Regions from separate parts of the Homo sapiens genome. Here regions 1, 2, 3 and 5 are each linked to region 4. The links are contacts of gene promoters, found by promoter capture Hi-C in human tissues and cell types (Jung and others, 2019). All regions are on one chromosome and are shown on one strand. Each heading gives the region's core, a stretch centred on a gene start or on the middle of the fragment in contact. The rest is flanking DNA. Distances are from core to core; before and after follow the strand shown. Region 1 overlaps AHCYL2 (adenosylhomocysteinase like 2). Region 2 overlaps AHCYL2 (adenosylhomocysteinase like 2). Region 3 overlaps ZC3HC1 (zinc finger C3HC-type containing 1). Region 4 holds the start of NRF1 (nuclear respiratory factor 1). Region 5 overlaps AHCYL2 (adenosylhomocysteinase like 2).

What was found. Contacts are between HindIII fragments. The study calls those that stand out against the background at their distance.
Region 1: a fragment that was not itself captured here is called in contact with the fragment with the promoter of NRF1 in region 4 in 1 of the 25 tissues and cell types used here (heart left ventricle).
Region 2: a contact is called between a fragment that was not itself captured here and the fragment with the promoter of NRF1 in region 4, in 2 of the 25 tissues and cell types used here (mesenchymal stem cells and mesendoderm cells).
Region 3: a fragment that was not itself captured here is called in contact with the fragment with the promoter of NRF1 in region 4 in 1 of the 25 tissues and cell types used here (mesendoderm cells).
Region 5: a fragment that was not itself captured here is called in contact with the fragment with the promoter of NRF1 in region 4 in 1 of the 25 tissues and cell types used here (IMR-90 fibroblasts).

What each region holds. Positions count from the first base shown.
Region 1 is chr7:129,341,811-129,344,510 of GRCh38, reverse strand. All of the region lies in intron 1 of AHCYL2 (adenosylhomocysteinase like 2), which reads right to left. It overlaps LOC105375500 (a long non-coding RNA gene), which reads right to left. Exons shown (of 2, transcript XR_927962.3): 1 at 1-2,700. Among named protein-coding and RNA genes, the nearest start is that of STRIP2, 91 kb to the left of the region's middle. The HindIII fragment of the contact is 3,656 bases long and covers 1-2,700 here.
Region 2 is chr7:129,258,261-129,260,960 of GRCh38, reverse strand. All of the region lies in intron 1 of AHCYL2 (adenosylhomocysteinase like 2), which reads right to left. Among named protein-coding and RNA genes, the nearest start is that of AHCYL2, 35 kb to the right of the region's middle. The HindIII fragment of the contact is 3,313 bases long and covers 1-2,700 here.
Region 3 is chr7:130,046,291-130,048,990 of GRCh38, reverse strand. The region is part of intron 2 of ZC3HC1 (zinc finger C3HC-type containing 1); the gene reads left to right. Among named protein-coding and RNA genes, the nearest start is that of ZC3HC1, 3.7 kb to the left of the region's middle. The HindIII fragment of the contact is 4,946 bases long and covers 1-2,700 here.
Region 4 is chr7:129,610,453-129,613,152 of GRCh38, reverse strand. It overlaps NRF1 (nuclear respiratory factor 1), which reads right to left and starts at 1,433. Exons shown (of 11, transcript NM_005011.5): 1 at 1,329-1,433. RefSeq lists enhancers at 146-285, 1,966-2,015 and a silencer at 586-1,575. The HindIII fragment of the contact is 9,254 bases long and covers 1-2,700 here.
Region 5 is chr7:129,282,205-129,284,904 of GRCh38, reverse strand. All of the region lies in intron 1 of AHCYL2 (adenosylhomocysteinase like 2), which reads right to left. Among named protein-coding and RNA genes, the nearest start is that of AHCYL2, 59 kb to the right of the region's middle. The HindIII fragment of the contact is 3,996 bases long and covers 1-2,700 here.

The sequences.
Region 1 (2,700 bases), core at 135-2,634, 270 kb after region 4:
ATCATATGGAATCATAAAATACTCTTTTATATCTAGCTTCTTTCATTTAATGTTTTTGAGATTCATCCATACTGTTATATGAGTAGTTCATTCTTTTTTACTGCTGAATAGCACATTACATGGGTGTACCATACTTTATTTATCCATTCATTTATTGATGGACATGTGGTGTTGTTTCCACTTTGGGGCCATTATGAATCAAACTGTCATGGACACTTGTGTATAGGTCTTCATGTGAACAATGGGCTTCATTTTCTTGGGTAAATGCATAGGTAAGGGTGAAATTGCTGGGTCACCTGGTAAGAATATATTAAATTTATAATAAACTGTTTCACACCAGCAATGCATGATCATTACAACTGTCCCACACCCTCATCAGTAGTAGCTATTGTCACTCTTTTTAATTTTAGCCATTCTAGCAGGTGTGCAGTATCTCACTGTGGTTTTAATTTGCACTTCTCTCGTGGTGTTGAGTATCTTATATGCTTATTAGCATTCATATAGTATGTACTGTGCTATGTCTGTTCAAATCATTCCTCCATTTAAGAAACTAGATTATCTTATTACTGAGTTTTAGATTCCTTTATATGAATTCTAAATACCAGTCATTTTTCTGTATATGTATTGTGAATATTTTCTCCCAGTCTGTGCTTGCCTTTTTATTTACTTACCTGTGTCTTTTGAATAGAAGTTTCTAATTTTGGAGAACTCTATCAAAACATTTTCTTTTAGAGTATTTTTTGTGTGCAAAGAAAGTTTTGCCTACCCCAAGGTCATGAAGATTTTCTCCTTTGTTTTTTTCTATAGTCTATGATCCATTTTGAGTTAACTTCTATACTTGGAATGAGATCAGAAACAAAGTTCACTTTGCCCCCAAACAGTATTTAGTTGTTCCAGCACCATTTGTTGGAAAGAAAAATTTTTCCCCACAGAATTATCTTGGCTTCTTTTTCAAAATCCAGTTCATTCTATAGGTAGAGGTCTATTTCTGGAACTTCCCATTGCTCTAAGCTCCCCCTCTCCCTTTCTTCTTAAGTATTAAGCACAAAATAGTCTTCGAAGTCATAATTGATAGCAGGGAAGGTGCCTTAATTGTCCATATATCGCTAACAAAGTGACATCAGCATGACAATTTAATTCCTATTATAATGCAGGACAAATAAGAAAACATATGAAAATTAATGCTAAGTTCATCATAAACAGACCACTAAAAACAAACAATATCCTAGTGCCCTCTAGTGGGAGGAAACTGTACGGATATGCCAAGCAAGAAAGATGAGCTTTTAATAAACACTACTCACAGGAATATTGAATACCAAGAAATGTGACTAATATTTCCATGCCTTCTCCTCATGCTTTTTAAGACAAAAAATTTTAAATAAAAAAGGAAAATGTTTTGCTATTTTAAGCAACTTTAATCCAATGTGAATGCAATGAAATAGAAAATTGGATAGACAAACAAAACAGGTATTTGGAATTTATATCCCCATAGTATACTTCCCTATATAAAGGAAATGGGGCCAGAGGCCAAAGGAAAAGAGAAAAGATTTCACATAATTAAAAGATGTAAATGAAATTGTTTCAAGATACATAGTATAAATACATTATCAAGATATGTATGTTAATATATACTTGTAACACATAACGTGTAATATTATATACATATATGCCAAATTTTTCTAGAATGAAGCACAAGATGATGTCAACAATGACTGCCTGTGGTGAACAGAGGTGAGTAGGGAGAAAGGAAAGATTTACATATCCCTTATTTTAAACATGTAAAATAAATGCTCTTACTTTAAAATAAGGTCTACCACTTTGAAACAGTCTAATGGTAATTTTATATGCTTATACATGAACTCCCAAAATAGGTGGCAAGTGAATAATACTGCGTTTAGAACAGTGTGTTTCAACAGTTGATTATAATTAACCCTTGTTAAGTCCCTCAAGGTACAAAGCTACATAGCCGCATTCTCTAACACACAGAAGGGAGATTACTACAAGTTCCCTCATCTTTTAATTGGAAGTTCTTGGTATATTCACCTACCTTTTGCTTCTTTATTCCTATTTTAAAGGAAAGGGTCTCTCTCTTCATTATTGTCTCCTTCAAACTACCTCCCTACCCATATATTTTTAAAATCTATTATTCTGGTCACTTAGGATCAAAACTGAGTCATGACTCTTACTCTCCTTCCACAAATGTTCTTTGTTTCTTCTGGATATTACCTTTGAGTTAATGGGGAGGAGGAGTCTAAGAAGACTTGGGTTTCTGGTGCTCTCCTACCAGCTGATAGGGTGAATGATGATACCAACAAGTAACAGGAATACTTCAACACTGGTGTCCCTTCCCAACTCCACCCCTGTACTTTTGCATATAATTTCCTCAGTTTAAAATGCCTGCTCTGTCTCCTTCTTATTAAACTCTTTCTATTTACTTTCTGTTCTCCTTCCCTTCTCTTAATGCCAAAGTACATGCTGGTTCCCACATAAAGCTTTACCTTTATAACCCTGGAGATAAACCATTCTTCTGAGTGGTTTAATGGTTGTAATTACTGCCTGTACCACTTAACAGACTTGTAGTCCATGCTCCTTTACACTGATATTCTTCTCTTTAAGCACTTGCTATTTTTTCCCAAGTGTTGGTAAATTCTCAAGATCGTGGACAGATTACACAGTTTGTTTTATTTCTACTATCTTGCC
Region 2 (2,700 bases), core at 168-2,667, 350 kb after region 4:
AAAAATTAGCCGAGGGTGGTGGCGTACGCCTGTAATCCCAGCTACTCGGGAGGCTGAGGCAGGAGAATCACTTGAACCCAGGAGGCGGAGGTTGCAGTGAGCAGAGATCGTGCCACTGCACTCCAGCCTGGGTGACAGGGCAAGACTCCGTCTCAAAAAAAAAAAATTGAAACCAATTTTAACATGTGTTGATGAGAGTTCAGTTGACTGTAAGCTCAAGGTGGGCCTTTGTACTGAATTGACAGCTTAAAAGTTAATACAAATTCATAGGTAATAAAATAACAGTACAGTGACCTGAACAAGGAAGAAAATTGAAACAGGTCAAGCAACACCCTGAGAATTATAATTTGAAATATGAAACAGGTCAAGCAACACCCTGAGAATTATAATTTGAAACATGACCTCTTACAAGTGATGCTGATAGCCAGGATGGTAGTAATGGCCTGGCCGACTACATCATATGAAGAATGATTAAGAGAAGCAGGAATGATTTCCATGGAGAAGAGACTATCTGGGGTAGGAAAAGTAAGAGCAGAACTGTCTACAAGTATTTGAATGATTGTATATTGAAGGGCAGGAATCACACTTGTATACATTTTATATTTATTCCCTATGCACCCAGTTCCAAGCTTTGCATATAGTAAATGCTCAAATATTTGAAGTCCAAGATCAATCCACCTGTTGAAGACTAAGCCAACAAAGACAGTTATACAAGAGTATCTGTTGTGATCTGAATGACAACTCAACAAAAGGATGAAGTAGGAGGAAGGAAACTTAAAATCAAAGTAAAAAGCCTTAACTGGCACAAGCTAAGCAGGCATAACTAAGGCACATTACCTTAAAAATCAGAATTTGTCTTATATCAGCTTTTTTTTTTTTTTTTTGAGATGGAGTTTCACTCACGTTGCCCAGGCTGGAGGGCAAAGGCATGATCTCGGCTCACTGCAACCTTCGCCTCCTGGGTTCAAGCGATTCTCCTGCCTCAGTCTCCCAAGTAGCTGGGATTACAGGCACATGCCACCATGCCCAGCTAGTTTTGTATTTTTAGCAAAGACAGGGTTTCACCATGTTGGCCAGGCTGGTCTCGAACTCCTGACCTCAGATGATCTGCCTGCTTCAACCTCCCAAAGCACTGGAATTACAGATGTGAGCTACCTCGCCTGGCCAACCTCAGCTGACATTCTTGACCATACTACTAGTTAAATTTTATTTCCTTTTGTAAGTATTTCCCCACAACAGAGTGAGTCGTCGTTTTCACTCTTCCTTTACAAAGAGAAAAACTGAGGTTGAGGGAAGTTATTTTCCTAGCACCAACATCATAACAATAGTTAACCTTGAATAGGAACCTTAAGCTTCTCGCTTACAAGCCTTGTTGTTAAAATCACTGGACTCATTGTGGGGTAGTAAACAAGTACAGTACTTAACTTAGAACTCAACCTCATTTGGTAATTACTTCAGTTTCACTTTTATTATTCTCCTCCAGTCATCTAATCTCTAAATCCACAAAGAGTAAGCCTACATTAATACTCTAAAACTTACAATCTTATGACTTGAAATTCAAAGGTTAGGAGTACAAAAGACTTATTGAAAAAAATTTTAAAATAATTTAAAATTTTAAAGACTAATATAAAAAATTAAGATTTGAGACCAAAGATTTGTCGCTCCTGTGCTGCTTAAGAAGGGGCCCTGGCACCACTTGTTCCACCATAAGCCAAATCTTGGCCATCAGAGTATACTAGGTACACACCACATCTCTCAAAACCTAAGTGGCCTTCTTTGTTTATCAGAGACTTGGTGCTGAGTGTTATTGCCAGAAGCAGTGGGAAAAAGGTAATGTTATTAAAGGAAGAAGAGGTCTTAATGTGAATGAAGGAGGCACACCAGAGATTCATTTCCTATTTTATATACATATTAGTTTGGTGTTAGTTTCTCAGAAAACTAAAAGAAGGTTGGAATAACACAGGACTTGATGGTGTCCAAGGAGCAGGATTTTAAAATAGCAAAATGCTACTCAGCTCTAGTTGTAGATGTAATAAAGGAATGCCCTAACAAGTGCTCACGCTCTCAACTTCCTGCCCAAGAAGGCTCATTTACATTATAATGGTTGCCACGGTTACTTTAATTCCATCACAGCTCCTGTCTCCAGTTGCTAATCTGGAGCCTGGGTGGTAAAACAACCAAAAACCTTAATTGAGGCTAACTCAAAACTCAGGCTACTCAAAAGTTCATGACCTACAAAAGGATTTTGTTCTAGCAACAAAAATTGCTTACGATAGGAACTGTTTGTTTCCTACACTCCATTCTATCCAAGATCTTACCTGGTATCTCAGGGAACTCTCTGGAAGTCAGTCAGTATTTTTATCTGCTATAAGCAGAGATTCTTGTAAAAAAAAAAAAAAAAAAAGCAAGATAAATAACATAAATTTTATAATGGGTAACAGATCAAAGAAGTGACTGCTTTATTCCAACTATTGGCATTCCAAGCTTTAATCAGAAAAGGCAATTATCTAAAAGAACATGGAGAAGTCTCCCAATGAATTATTAATGTCACTAAGTATTATCTTCTAAGAAGGATATCATGTAGTCCTGGTATACACGTAGTACCTAAATTAGGCATAAGGTTAGTATTTTGTATTTAAGCAACAATCCAACAGAATACACAGTAACAGAAAAAGTGAAGGATGGGGGATTCTTTTTTTT
Region 3 (2,700 bases), core at 143-2,642, 440 kb before region 4:
TCTAGAATTCCTCCAAGGTATTACACCACTTACTGTGATGCTTTAAACTTAAGAATAAAACCTTGGTAAGAAATTATATAGGAAAGTCAGCATCCTAATATGTTATCACTCAGAGGGACAGTTGAGGTTATCTAACCTTTTCTTTTTACAGAAGAAAAAACTAAGAGCCTGAGAAAAGAAGAAATAATAACTAATACTTGTATATAGTATGTTTTTGTATATATTATCACATTCGATCTTGACCTTAAACCTATGAAAATAAGCATTATTATTATACTTGTTTTACAGAAGAGGAAACAGTTTGGGGCAGGTTATATGACTTGCCCAAGATGAACCTGTTAGCAAATGGCAGATCCAGGATTATAATCTAATGTTTTTTAGATTATTAGAGACTACACTACTATAATGTCTCTTTCTAGATTTTCCTTTGTGTATTAGCTACCTATTGCTGCATAGCAAATTGCCCCAAAACTTAGTGATCTTAAAACAACAAACAGTTTTTATTTCATAATTTCTGTGGATCAGGAATCCAGGCATGGCTTAGCTGAGTCCTCTGGCTCAGGGTCTCTCACAGACTGCAATTAAGGTTGGTCAGGGCACTGTCATTTCAAGGCTCAACTAGGAAAATTGTCTCAAAAGAAAAATAAAATAAAATAAAACAAAACAAAACAAAATTAGCCAGGTGTGGTGGTGCTCACTTGTAATCCCAGCTACTCAGGAGTCTGAGGCAGGAGAATAGCTTGAACCTAGGAGGCAGAGTTTGCAGTGAGTCGAGATCGCGCCACTGCATTCCAGCCTTGGCAGCAGAGCAAGACTCCGTGTCAAAAAAAAAAAAAAAAAAAAAAAACAACTAGGAAAGGGTCCACTTCCAAACTCAGTCATTGGCATACTGTTGGCAGGATTCATTTACTTGTGTCTGTTGGACAGAGGGCTTCAGTTCTATACTGGCCATTGGCCAGAGATGTCCCTCCCCACTTGGTTCCTTGCTATGTGGGCTTCTCTAAAGGAAAGTTCACAACTTGGCAGCTGACTTCCATCAGAGTGAGCAAAGGAGAGAACAAGATACAAGCCAGCCTCATTTTGTAATCTAATCTCAAAAGTGACATCTCATCATTTTTGTCATATTTTATGCATTAGAAGCAAGTCACTAGGCCAGCCCATACTCAAGAGGAGCAGATAACACAAGGGCATGAATATAAGAAGGCAGGGATCATTGGAGCCACCTTAAAAGCTGTTCACATCACCTTGCTTTGAGAGAAGTCTTTAGTAGCTCCAGCTGCTTTTTTTTCCTGCCAAGTTTGCACCCCTACCCGTGTGTGTGTGTGTGTGTGTGTGTGTGTGTGTGTGTGTGTAGACAAAGTCTTGCTATGTTGCCCAGGCAGGTCTCGAACTCCTGGCCTCAAGCAATTATGCTGCCACAGCCTCCCAGAGGGTTGGGAGTACAGGCCTGAGCCGCCAAACCTGGCCCCGAATTTCTGTCTTATAAACTATTAACAAGGTCTTGACCTAGGAATCAAAAATTAACAAAATCTCAGAATTTAAGACCATAAAATAAGCCAAATCACACACCTTTTTTTGATCAAGAAACTAATACTGGCTAGGCATGGTGGCTTACGCCTGTAATCCTAGCACTTTAGGAGGCCAAGGTGGGCGGATCACCTGAGGTCAGGAGTTTGAGAGCAACCTGGCCAATATGGTGAAACCCTGACGCTACTAAAAATACAAAATTAGGCCGGGCGTGGTGGCTTACACCTGTAATCCAAGCACTTTGGTTTGCTGAGGCAAGTGGATTACGAGGTCAAGAGTTTGAGACCAGCCTGGCCAACATGGTGAAACCCTGTCTCTACTAAAAATACAAAAATTAACCAGGCATGGTGGCACATGCTTGTAGTCCCAGTGACTCGGGAGGCTGAGGCAGGAGGATTGCTTGAACCTGGGAGGCGGAGGTTGCAGTGAGCCGAGATCATGCCACTGCACTCCAGCCTGGGCGACAGGAATGAGACTCCATCTCAAAAAGAAAAAAAAGAATGCACAGTTAGCTGGGTGTGGTGGCATGCGCCTGTAATCCCAGCTACTCAGGAGGCTGAGGCAGGAGAAATTGCTTGAACCTGGGAGGCAGAGGTTGCAGTGAGCCGAGACCATGCCACTGCACTGCAGCCTGGGTGGCAGAGAAGACTCCGTCTCAAAAAAAAACTTATACTGGAATATTACCCAAATGAAAAAGTAAGCACATACCAGCTATCACATTGCATGTTTCACGAAGAGACATTAAACGTTATGTCATAAGTTTATTTAGAAACATACCTAGTGTGCTATATGCCTGACTTCAAGAATTTGATCCATTGTTTTGTTTCCTTTTTTCCCTTCAACTTTTTTTTTTTTTTGAGATGGAGTCTCATTCTGTCATCTAGGCTGGAGTACAGTGGTGCCATCTTGGCTCACTGTAACCTCCACCTCCTGGGTTTAAGCAATTCTCCTGCCTCAGCCTCCCAAGTAGCTGAGATTACAGGCGCCCGCCACCATGCCTGGCTAATTTTTTGTATTTTAGTAGAGATGGGGTTTCACTGTGTTGCCCAGGCTGGTCTCAAACTTTTGAGCTCAGGCAATCCTCCTGCCTTGGCCTCCCAAAGTGCCAAGATTACAGGCATGAGCCACCATGCCTGGCCTTTTTTTCTTCAACTTTTATCTTCAGTTCCGGGG
Region 4 (2,700 bases), core at 184-2,683:
AAAGCTCTGCCCAACACTGCCCAAGCTGACAGGCTCACTCACACTACCTTTCTCCTTATGCGTCTCTCAATACGCAGTCTCTGAACACTTAAAAAAATGTGAATTTTGCTCTGACCACATAAAGAAATCAGCACGATTGACACCAGCTCTAAAATAAGCAATTAATATATTCTAATCTAATGCTTAAGAAGAATGGAGAGCAGGCAACAGCTCCTCCAACTGGTTGGAGCAGATATCACTGGAAGCCCCCCAAGTATTAAGATTTTTAAACAACTTCAAGTTCTGGTGGGCACAGCCAAATACACTGCAGAAACTTTGGGACCAGCAGCCACGACACAACAGGTGAGAGAGGCAGCAGACATCATTGCACGATGGAGTGCACAACATTCAATGACAAACCCGAAAAGGTCTGGGGATATGGGAAAATACCATGCACACGGCCATCTCAGAGCCCCTGTCTTTCCAGTGGCAAAAGGTTCTGTTCCTTCGGAGGGGCGTGCCACTCCCCCTCTCCCTCACCCAGGGGACCACCACCCCAGGCACAGGAAGAACCGCGGCCCCTCCGCGGGCACATCTCAGCTGGGGAAGAAAACACAATGTCGCTCCTTATTTCTGCGTACAAAAGGACTTTGCGCCCTCCTCCTCGAACTGCCGCCCCGGCCACCTCCTAACTTGCAAGAAGGTGGGCAACGCGCCATATTCCAGCGTCCCCCAGTCTACCTGGGTAACAAGCCCACGCCACCCCGGCAGGAGGGAAGCTTCGGAGGTCGCCCAAAGAGCCAGCCTCCTCTCCCGCAGGAGACAGCGGCTCCCGCGCCCCAGCCCGGCCCCACCGCGCCGCCCGCCCGCCCGCCCGCGTACGAGAGCCGGGAAGGGCCGAGGGGGCGAGCCGAGAGCCGCGGCTCCGGTCCCGCGCAGCCCGCCCACCTCCCGCTCCCGGGCCCGGCGCACTCTCCCGCGCCTCCCGCTCCCGAGCTGCGGGAAGGCCGGGCCCCGGGTTCCACGGCGGGGAGAAGGCCGCGGCCCCGAGAGCCCCAGGCGGCGGAGGAGGCCGGAACCCTGGGGCTCTCGGGAGGGCAGCGCCTCCCTCCCGAGCCCGCCAGGACGCCTGGGGCCTAGTGCGGCCTGCGCATCCTCGGGGTGGCGGTTTGGCTGGGCCGGGCCGGGGCCCCCCGCCCGAGGCGGGCCGAATCCGGCGGGGGCCCAGGCCCAGAGCCGGGGGCGGCAGGGTGCCGGCTGCGGGGCGGGCCGGCCGGCCGGCGGGCGGGCGGCGTGTTGCGGCTGCGCCGGGGCTGAAATAGCTGGAGATTGCGCGGTAGGGCACTCACCTCAGAGCGGCTGCGCTACCGTGGGCCTGCGCCGTGGAGACTGCGACCGCGCCGGCTCCTCGCAGCCTCCTGCCACCAGCGGCAATGGCGAGCGCTGCCGCTTCTGCCGCCGCCGCCGCCGCCGAGGAGGGGGAGGGGAGGGAGAGGGCACGCACGCGACGCACGGCCCGGCTTCCCCGCCCGGCCGCCGCCATGATGAGGAGGTCGGCGCGGCTGTGCTGCGGGCAGGCAGCGGAGAGGGCTCGCGGCGAGGGCTCCAGCTTACCCCGCCGCCGCGTCGCGTGCACGGAGCGCTTCAGAGGTTTGGAGGGGGCCGGAACCTCAAAAGCAACTGGATGAGCACAACGCGGACGCCCCGGAGAAGCGGCGCAAGCGGGCCCAAAATGGTTGCTGATCAGACGAGTGGCATCTCTCGCCCCCCTACCGCGGGAATTGGGACCTCCAGACTGTGCCTGGGGGATCGGCAAGTGGTTCCCCTCTGGTTTTTTCGGCGCTGCCTTCCCGGTGGTATCCTCACTCTCTCTCTTTGAAATGACCTCTGCTTTCCTATCTCTAACTCTTCCCAGATATTTGAAAGCAAGTTTTTGTACAAAGCAACATATGAATGTATTCAGCCATTCGATCGTTCGGCGAACATTTCTAGGTGTCTCGTGCTGTGCCAGATATTGTTCTGAGTGCGCTGAAGATGCACCTGTTAGCAAGACAAAGTCCTGGCTCCCACGGAGCTTATTCGAAGCAATAGGGGCCCCCAAGCAGGTGCCTGAGAAGTAGGGAGGGGTGGACAGTGGGAAAACAACCTAACGGTGGAGACACACGAGGGGTCTTTTTTTACTTTTAGAAACGGGGGTGGGTGGTCACCCTATGTTGCCTAGGCTGGTCTCGAACTCCTGGGCCCAAGCGATCCTCCCGACTCAGCCTCCCAAAGTGCTGGTATTACAGGACACCATGCCCGGCAGAGGGGTCGTTTTTGTTGTTTTTTTAGTGTCGTCAGGAGACTCCCTCCATCAGAATTACTCAGGCTGATTGTTTTGAGTCCTGGGACCCAGTTGGTATCCAGAATCTTGGCTTGTTTGCCTAGGAACCTGCATTTTCACATCCCCATCTCCACACCCCTGGTGATTCTTATGCATATAATAATGTGAAAAGCATTGCATTGAAGAATTGCTAAAGGGTGTCAGAAAACGGATTAACAAAATCAGGAAGCTTTAATTTTCAAGATTCTATTAACCTCAAAATTCAACATATCCAAAAATTGAATGTCTTTTTCTCCAGTGTTTTCTAGGAGAGTGCCAACACTAGCCACCCAAGTGCTCAAGCCAGAAACCTGGAAATGATCCATTACTCTTTCCTCTGTCTCTGGAGTCCCCATGTT
Region 5 (2,700 bases), core at 167-2,666, 330 kb after region 4:
AATAAAACTTGGATTATTCTAGTTTGCCAAAAATAAAGCTCTAGAAACTAATGATTTCATTTTCAATTTCTTAAGACATTTTTCTAGTTTGAAAAAAAAATTTTTTAGTTTTTTCATTTCCACTCCTTTTCAATTAATCAACAATTGCATACTGAACATAGAGGAGAAAGAGAAAGCAGGAGTGAAAGTCACAAGCTAGAATTCTCCAAGAGATTCCTTATCTTCATACTCCCATATGTGAGAATCACATTGTCTCAGGATGGCCCCCAAACAACTATTCCAAGCTTTTTTTTTTTTTTTTTTTTGAGACGAAGTCTCAACTCTGTCATCTAGGCTGGAGTGCAGTGGTGCGATCTTGGCTCACTGTAACCTCTGCCTCCTGGGTTCCAGCGATTCTCCTGCCTCAGCCTACCAAGCAGCTGGGATTACAGGCACATGCCACCATGCCCAGCTAATTTTTTTATTTTTATTAGAGATGGGGGTTTCACCATGTTGGCCAGACTGGTCTTGAACTCCTGACCTTAGGTGATCCGCCCACCTCAGCCTCCCAAAGTGCTGGGATTACAGGCGTGAGCCACCATGCCCGGCCAATTATTCCAAGCTTTTTCCATCCCACCTACAGGTGAAATTTTCCTATTCCTCACGCTTGTCCTTCCTCTCTGAGAAGACTAACAAATCCCTTCATCTTAACTACGGAATCACTCTCTGCTCACAGTCAACCCCAACCACATAACTTTCTTTCGTTTATTACTTCCACTAACAGAATTCAGTCCTTATCACTTCCCTTAATTTATTCAGCTAGGACACATTCTTCCTACCCCAGGAAGTCCTGGAAATCAATTATTTATAATAAAATAGTACTCACATTATTCATTAACCAGGCAAAGGACAGTGCTTTCTTTTAAAAAAATGACTCCATTGTAGAAAGGTTTAAAGATATTAAAATTTTTTAAATAGCTGGATTTTGATTTTGTTTTTTAAAGCCTCAGGATGTAAAAAGTTTCTTTATTCTATTCCTGGGTGGGTTTCTTCCCTAAGGTCACAAGATCAAATCAAACAAGATAGGTAGACTGGTTTTAAATTTTAAAAATGACCACCTGATGCTATTTGGAAGCTAATATGAAAAAAGATAGTGATGCTGAGTTCAGACCTCAGGGCCTGTGGTACAAAAAGTACTATATTGTTTGAGTCACACAACCATAGAACATATTAAACCTCTTTTTTATAGATAAAAAGCAAAGCACAAGCAAATACCAAAAAACACTTAAAATATAAAACTTTAGTCTCAAAATGATGGAAGAGAAGAAGGTGAAACTTAATTTTAAAGTCTAGAAAATTTCTGTCAGTACCTCATCTTTGGCAAATATATCCATTTAGTCTATATGTTTATCCTGAAACATTTCAAGCACATAAGAAGTATTTAAAATAATGGACTTCCATTTCTAGCCAATATGTAATAACAAGTATAAGATTTACCTACCTGCCTGAAACAAACAAACAAAAAAAGCAGAGAAAATACATGAAATGATGGTTTCAAAGACACTGCACATTAGGCAATGAAGAACAGCAATCCCTGAGAGACAGAAAACAAGTGAAGTAAGTTCTGTGAATGCTTCTGCTTACTGCCTTGAGAATATTTCCAAGGTGCAGTTTAATGAAGGAGGAACCCAAGTAGAGCCCAGGGCTATCTTCGTTGAAGAGATTGAGCTGAGAGTCTGGGAAGGCCAAGGCAGAGACAGTGTGCAGGATGGAGTACTGGAAAACGCGCTGCATGCTGGGAGCACCTGGAGCTCTGCAGTGGGCTCCTCTTAAGTACTCAGTGGGGTACTGACCAGTGAGTGCATGTAGGAACTACTTAGAAAACTAGAGGGAACACTAACTGGCACTCAAACAGAACAAGAACAATGCCTGTTCCCACCAGCCAAACTGGAAAACCCCGTAATTAACAAGGCACGAGGTAGAGTATTCCAAGGATCCTGGGGAGTAACTACCCTAGATGGAAAACTGCTCTGGCCCCACCTAACAAATATTTTTTTTTCTCCCCCTCTTCTCTCTATGTTTTTGAAACAAATCTTAAGGAAAGGATTCAACTGTATTAATAAATTAACTGTGACACAGAACAAATAAAAAAAAAATCCAGTACCTAAACAGGTAAAATTCACAATGTTTATAATCCACAAAAATTTATCAAACATGCAAAGAAAATATGACCCATGAAGAAGAAAAAAATCAATCAACTGAAGCTAACAAAATTGACATATATGTTAGAATTAGCAGACAAGGGAATTAACAAAGTTATTCCATATTCAAAAAGCTAAGTAGAAACATGGGAGAAAGAAAATAAGGCCTAAATCCAACTTCTACAGATAAAAAGAATAATGTCTAATATGAAAAATGCATTGGATAAGACTGATGGCAGATCAGACAAAACATAAGAGATGAGTGAACTAGAAGACACATAATAAAAACTACCCAAAGTAAACCAGAGTGGAAAAAGAATAAAAAGACCATGAGTGAATTCTGGGAACACTTTAAGCAGTTTAATATACATGTAACTAGAGTTCCCAGAAGTAAAGAGAGGATAAACAGGGATATTTAAAGAAATAGTGGCCAAATTTTTCCAAATTTGATATTGACAATAAACTCATAGATCTAAGATGCTAAATGAACCATAAGAACAAAAAACACAAGAAAAATGCA